Regions from separate parts of the Homo sapiens genome. Here region 1 is linked to region 2. The links are contacts of gene promoters, found by promoter capture Hi-C in blood cells and fetal thymus (Javierre and others, 2016). All regions are on one chromosome and are shown on one strand. Each heading gives the region's core, a stretch centred on a gene start or on the middle of the fragment in contact. The rest is flanking DNA. Distances are from core to core; before and after follow the strand shown.

Region 1 (3,384 bases), core at 463-2,962, 230 kb after region 2:
TGCTGCTCCATGCTCTCCCACGTCCATGAGCTCCTCCACCACTGCTCCTCCTCCATTCCCTCTCCCTCTCCCAACAACCGCCTCGCCTGGAGCTTCCACACCTTTTCCACCAGCCACTCCCTGCAGCCACTCAGCCAGCATCAAATCATACACTGGCCGAGCTTCGGATTTGCTAATAAAGGGTCCTTCATTTCTGCACAGCTCCACCTTACTGAATTTGCAGTTTCTCTAAATGGCCTCTATATTCCTTTCATGGCCAATCCTGACCTCCCTCCTACCCCCACTCCAACCCAGGGTCACACCCACCCAGCATTACCAGGTTCCACAGTTAAACCAACTCCGCCCCAGTGACTGTGTCTCTGAAAGCATAGAGAGATGTATATTACCATTACTCTAGTCCCACCATGGCAGCAGCAAGGCCCATATGGACAGGAGTCGTGGAGGAGCGGGGAGTTCCACACCTATAATCTAACCTGGAGACAGTGTCTGGCAATTTCACACCCAGCCTGCAGCCCACTCTGCAGTTCTCCCTATCTCTATTAAATACCTGACCCCTCAAACTGCCTCCCTTTTTCCTAACACAAGCTTTCTTTTCCTTCTCATCCAACCTCTCTTTTTCCCCACCTAAAGAGGGAAGGGTTTGAAAAGCTATTTCTAAAACTACTATAGAACAATAAAGCCCCTTTGAACGAAGCACACCACGTAATGAGGCTTAAACTCACTGCCAGATTCAGCATCCTGGAGCTCAACCCTATGTCATATCCTTGCTCAAAATCCCTCCATGGCTCCCCACTGCCTGAAGAGTAAAAGGACTCAACACAACCATAAAATAGCAATGGTATCCAATGTACTTGAGATGTGCATGGAAAGAATGTGGTAATAACCTGAAGGACGTAACGATAACAATAAACATAGCTAGCAATTATTGAGCACTTACTGTGTGCTTTACACACATTAATGTGTTACCCTACAGGGTTACAGTAACCTTCACCCAGCCTTGCCTGGTGGGTGCCACTATTGTCCCTGATTTAGAGTTTGGGGTTGTGCTGAGAAATGGAGCTTCCAGCAGCCCCATTTCTCAGCCACTGTGGGTGTAGCTGGGGGAGGGATACTGAGGGTGTGGGCTCTAGCCTGAGTGGAAGTGGGGGACCCTGACCCAGGTGGGGGTGAGTTTTTGGAGGGCTTGGCTAGAAGTTGGCTGTGAAGAAGGGAAGTTGGGGAAACCCAGGCCATCCTAGCTCGGGCCTGCTTTCTCCCCACTGGGCTGGAACCCCACGCTTGCCCAAGGTCCCTGCAGGCCCAGTTCTCTGGATGGTAGGCACCGCCACCCTAAGCAAACCCCAAAGTCTTTGAGAAACCCACTCAATCTTCACTGGCTGGACTGGCCTCTCTGTCAATGGACTCCCAGGGGCCCATCCCATCCCAGGAAGCACCTCCAGAGCCCTTTTCTATCCCTCTACATCCATGTCCATCTTTTCTGAAGGAAGGTATGTCCCTCACAGGTGCACAGCACTTCACAGTGTGAGGGTGCTTCGTCGAGACCTCGTATCAACCCAGACAGAGAAGCAGGGCAAAGTACATTCCACTCTGCAGACAAGGAAATCATCGTGGCTCCATATGTTACACGCACTGTTTCATAATTTAATCCTCCCTACAGCCCCTTCTGAGACTATTATCCCACTTTACAGATGAGGAAACTGACGCAGAGAAGGGCTGTAACTTGCCATGGCCCCATGTCAAGTCAGTGGCAGGACTTGAACCCAGGTCTCCCTGGGGGCATTCAGTCTCTGGAGGCCACCAATATGGCCAACTTAACCTCAGAAGATCCATCTTCCCTGCTGCTGACCATCCCAAACCTTCTGGACACCCAGCCCTCGGGGGCAGGCATCTGGCCAACCACTTGAGATGGTTCTCAGCAGCCCCTGTGGCCAGAGGCCAGAACTGCTAAGTCTGGCTCTGGCATGCTCCCCCAGCCACCACATCCCATCCTGGTCCCACAGCACCCCAGCCAGAGCTGCCCCCACAGCCCAGCCTCTCACCCCCGCCCACAGATCCAAATTTCCATTCCCTCAGCAGCATGAGCTCAGTGGGGAGGAAGGCAATCTGATTACAAGCAGTCCCGGCCTCGGGGTCGCCAAGGGTGTGGGCATCATAAAGCAGGCGCTCTGGCGGCACTGAAGAGGGGAGGGGATGGTGCAGGAAGCCCGGGATGTCGAGGCCGGGCTCTGTTACCACCGCACTGGGTGGCCTCCTGAGCCTCAGTGCCCCCACCTGGAAAGCGTGCCTTTTCATCGATCGCTGCCTTACCTAACCCTCCAGATGGCTGTGCCGCTCAAAGTGACCTTGATGAGAAGATGCTTTGGGAAACAGGAAACATGACGCAGACATGAGGAGGCTGTGTCATCACCGTCACTCTGAACCAGCTTTCCCTGAGCGCCTGCCTGGGCCAGGCCTGACGGTGGGCACTGGGCTCACGAAGAGGAGGAAACAGTCCCGGCCCCTGCAGTCTACTGCCTGGTAGGGGAGACAGGCAACAGGCGGCCACCACACAGGTGCCCAGTGCTGCATGGAGGGACACTCTAGGGACTGCAGGGACCCAAAGAAGGGGCTCTGGCCCAATCTGGGGTCAGGGCAGGTCTAGGATGGCCCTGAATGAGTTTGAAAGACCAATGGGAGTTGGCCAAATGGAGGGGGTGGGCCCTCTAGGTGAGAAACGGCAGGGGCGCTGGGGGAGGGGTGACAAGGAGAGAAGACATCAGCAAAGCACACAGCACACCGTAGGTGCTCAGAACGCGGTTGTTCTCTTCCCCTCCCCATACCTCACCCTGTGGACTCAAGTCCAAGCTTATACCTCCTCACTCCCTTTCTGCGAGCCGGCTGGCCCTGCCAGGGACCCTTTCTGCCTTCTCTTCTCAATGGGCTGCACCCAGTGTCCCTGCTGGCCCAGGAAAGCCCTGCTGACCTGACCTTCTGGGTACCAAGCTGGGCCCAGCCCATGAATTAAGCTCATGCAGAGGGGGCCCTGCTGAGGCGGCAGCACCACCCAGGAAGAAAGCCCAAGCTGGGCAGACACCGCTGGGGTCCCAGCTCCACCTCCTACAGGCTGTGTGGCCTTGGGCAGGCTGCTCAAGGGCTCGGACCTGGGACTTGGGGTAGAAGGAGTTATTACAGACTGGGCTACGTGGGGCACACAGCACAGTCCTGCACACACACTAGCAGGAGCTAAATTCTCACTATCATAGTAAATTAACGCTGCCTCAAAAAATCCAGGCTGTAGGGTCACTTGGTAAGCATGAAATGTTGCACAGGACAACGGTACTGGTACGGAAGGGTGGCTGAAAACATCGGCGGCTCCGATCGTGCCTGCAAACAGCCACTGCACTC
Region 2 (3,419 bases), core at 260-2,759:
AATGCACAAGTTTTAGCCACATATTAACTGTAACTACCTCCTTAAATGCGACTGATCTAATTAGAAGCTTTTCAGCTTGTTAGTGGCCCATTTTTTCCTTTTTTTGGACAAAGAAGGGAGGAGAGGGGAGGGGAGGGAAATGGAGGCAGTGGGGTGGTGGGGGGGAGGGGCGGGAGAGAGAGACAGAGAGAGAGAGAGAGAGAGAGAGAGAGAGAGAGAGATGCCTCAGGGTGTCACAAATTTGTTTTTAAAAAATGAATTAATGGCCGGACGCGGTGGCTCACGCCCGTAATCCCAGCACATTGGGAGGCCGAGGCCGGTGGATCACCTGAGATCGGGAGTTCAAGACCAGCCTGGCCAACATGGCGAAAACCCCGTCTCTACTAAAAATACAAAAATTAGCTGGGCATGGTGGCGGGCGCCTGTAATCCAAGCTACTCAGGAGGCTGAGGCAGGAGAATCGCTTGAACCTGGGAGGCGGAGGTTGCAGTGAGCCAAGATCCTGCCACTGCACTACAGCCTGGGTGACAAAGCAAGACTCTGTCTCAAAAAAAAAAAAAAAAACAAAAAAAAACAATTAATGCCCTCGGGTAAACTATGACGTTTGTGCTAACTTTTCAGATGTCCCAAGATTTGGGTTGTTTTACAAGGATAACGAAGTTCATGATGAGGTTAAGCAATCACTGAAGCTAGTGCTAGAAATTTTTTTTAATTTAATTTTTTAGAAAGAGGGGTCTTGCAGAATTTTTTATTTAATTTTTTAGAAAGAGGAGTCTCGCTATGTTGCTCAGGTTGGTCTCCAACTACTGGGCTCAAGTGATCCTCACGAGTAGCTAGGGCTACAGGCACAGGACACTATGCCAGGCTTAGTGCTACAATATTCTGTCTATTTTACTTTAAAATATTCTAAGTATGCTCACTTTGGAAGGCATCAACATCCAGAAATGCATTCCTACATCAAGACTCTCAAGAAACGGGAATTACTGTAAGGGCATACCCTTGAGCAACCATCACACTGCACTGAACTCTTGAGAATATTCTGGAATATCCTGGAAGCATCTCTGCAGGGCAGAGAAGTGAACTGCCACAGAAGGAGCAGCTTTGGGGAGAAGAAATACAGTTTGCCTCTTACAGTATTTTTCTACACCGAGAGCTACATTCCTCCCGAGTTTTAAATTTGTGGACCGTTGAATATCACTCCGCCTTTCATAAAGTTACAAATACCTTCCGTCGGTGGCGGGAACAGAGTTTGGAAAATTACATGCCTAAGACTTCAGATAAGCTAAATGACATACATGCAATAGCATCCCATGAAGAATTTATTCAACCCAATCCATTGCATCTAATTACCCAAAGCACAGAAACTCTCCAAACTGTGCACCCCCCAAAAGGAGGGAAAATGCAAGGTTCCTGCTGCAGTTCCCGGGACACACTGCGAGCCGCTTTGTTACAAGTGTATCCAATGTCCCCAGAACGAGGGACTTGTGGGGCGCGGCTCATCCCAGCGCCACTTGCTCTGCAGCTCCCAGAGGTGGTGGTTGTGTTACGAAGGCTGACCCTGCCAATGGCCGACAAAATGGTGCGCACCCCCAAGTGCTCGAGATGCAGGAACCATGGCTTCCTGGTGCCCGTCAAGGGACACGCGGGCAAATGCCGCTGGAAGCAGTGCCTCTGCGAGAAGTGCTACCTGATCTCCGAGCGCCAGAAGATCATGGCCGCGCAGAAGGTGCTCAAGACGCAGGCCGCCGAGGAGGAGCAGGAGGCGGCCCTGTGTGCGCAGGGGCCCAAGCAGGCCTCCGGGGCTGCGGCCGCCGCCCCCGCCCCCGTCCCCGTCCCGGCCGCGAGCCTCCGCCCGCTGTCCCCGGGGACTCCCTCCGGAGACGCCGACCCGGGACCCGAGGGCCGCGCGGCCGCTTGCTTCTTCGAGCAGCCCCCGCGGGGCCGGAACCCCGGCCCGAGAGCCCTCCAGCCGGTTCTGGGCGGCCGCAGCCACGTGGAGCCGAGCGAGCGAGCCGCCGTGGCGATGCCCAGCCTTGCGGGACCCCCTTTTGGGGCGGAGGCCGCAGGCAGTGGCTACCCTGGCCCCCTAGACCTGCGCAGGCCGATGCGGACCGTGCCCGGCCCACTGTTCACCGACTTTGGTAAGTCGTGGCCTTGGTCCCGCGGTCGACTCCCGGAGCTGGCAGCCCAGGCCAGCCCGGATGGGGAGCTGGCATAGGGGTTCGGGGTGGAGAGAAGTTTTTCCACGGGTAACGGACCTTCCGCTTTGAGAAACCCTTCTTCGAACAGGGATTTGGATTGGGTAACTTTTCGCAAAAAGGAAACGAGAAACAGAAAGGAATGGGCGGTTCAGAGGGCTTTTAACATTTAGCTGTAGTTTGTGCCATTCCGGCATGCAAGAACAAAATGGCGTCCAGTCGACTTAGCAGTGCTTCCTCCTCCGGGGGAGGCTTCGAGGAGCCGAGTCCTACTGCTCTTGCGCACCTCTTCCCGCCATTTCCTTGGGCTGGAGGCTCCTCCTCCAGAATAACAGAATTTTCCTGCCGGCACGTTAGCGCAAGGACGCCTGCGCACTCTTCCCTCCCGGTTCGCGGTCGGGAGGCTCCTCCCCTCAGCTCCGCCCTGGCCCAGTGCGCCTGCGCACCTCTTCCCTCCGTTTCCCCACGTGCAGGTGAGGGGAGCCTGCTTCTTTACTCCACACACGAGAACAGTTGGTCAGTAAAGATGTTGCCTTTCTTTTCTCCCTTCACCTTGTACATAAATTACATTGTTCCCTGTGCCTTGGAGCTTTTGGTATTGAAGTAGTTTCAAGTCACATGTACATTTGAAGCTTTAGAAGCCCCGGGGTTTGGTGCGGACGCGTTTTCCTGGTGTCTCCCCCGTGGTGGTGTGGTGGGACGGGCTCAGGCCGAGGCGGGGGCCCGGGTCACGCTGGACAAGCTCCTGCCCTCTGTGTGCCAGGGCACTGGTCCGGAGGCTCCCGCAGGCTCGTCCCGCCCCCCTGACTTTCCAGGAAAATCTAGGTCCCCAGGGAACGTCCCATCTGACAGGGTCACAGGCCTGAAACTGCAGATCTAGGAGAAGCCACCTTTCTTTTTTCCATCTCAACAGACAAGCAGGGCTGAGCCGAACCATGAGCCAGGCATTCGTGATGGAGGACGCGGGTCACATTTCTTGCCCTCAAGGACCTTGTCCTTGTGGGAGGGACAGGGTTGATCAAAGAGTCACACAAATCAGTGTCCAGGGCTTGAGCCATGGCCGGGTTCACTGTGACCCGGAGGAGGAGGAGGAGCTCGGCACTGAGGCCTCAGAGAGGCAGAGTGCGGGCTGACGGTGTGTGGGGCAGCGGGGAGGTCTGGAGGCGGCCCCGGCCCACAGCGGGCTTGATGGCCGTGCTGAGGACTTTCCAAGAGCAGTGG

Evidence for each region. The method cuts DNA at HindIII sites, captures the fragments that hold promoters and counts their contacts. A CHiCAGO score of 5 or more calls a contact.
Region 1: a fragment that was not itself captured here is called in contact with the fragment with the promoter of DMRTB1 in region 2 in 7 of 17 cell types (fetal thymus, endothelial precursors, M1 macrophages and 4 more); the score reaches 9.3 in fetal thymus.

What each region holds. Positions count from the first base shown.
Region 1 is chr1:53,691,531-53,694,914 of GRCh38, forward strand. The region is part of intron 2 of GLIS1 (GLIS family zinc finger 1); the gene reads right to left. Among named protein-coding and RNA genes, the nearest start is that of GLIS1, 46 kb to the right of the region's middle. RefSeq lists an enhancer at 2,444-3,070. The HindIII fragment of the contact is 2,259 bases long and covers 584-2,842 here.
Region 2 is chr1:53,457,890-53,461,308 of GRCh38, forward strand. It overlaps DMRTB1 (DMRT like family B with proline rich C-terminal 1), which reads left to right and starts at 1,510. Exons shown (of 4, transcript NM_033067.3): 1 at 1,510-2,141. The coding sequence starts at 1,565. The HindIII fragment of the contact is 2,763 bases long and covers 66-2,828 here.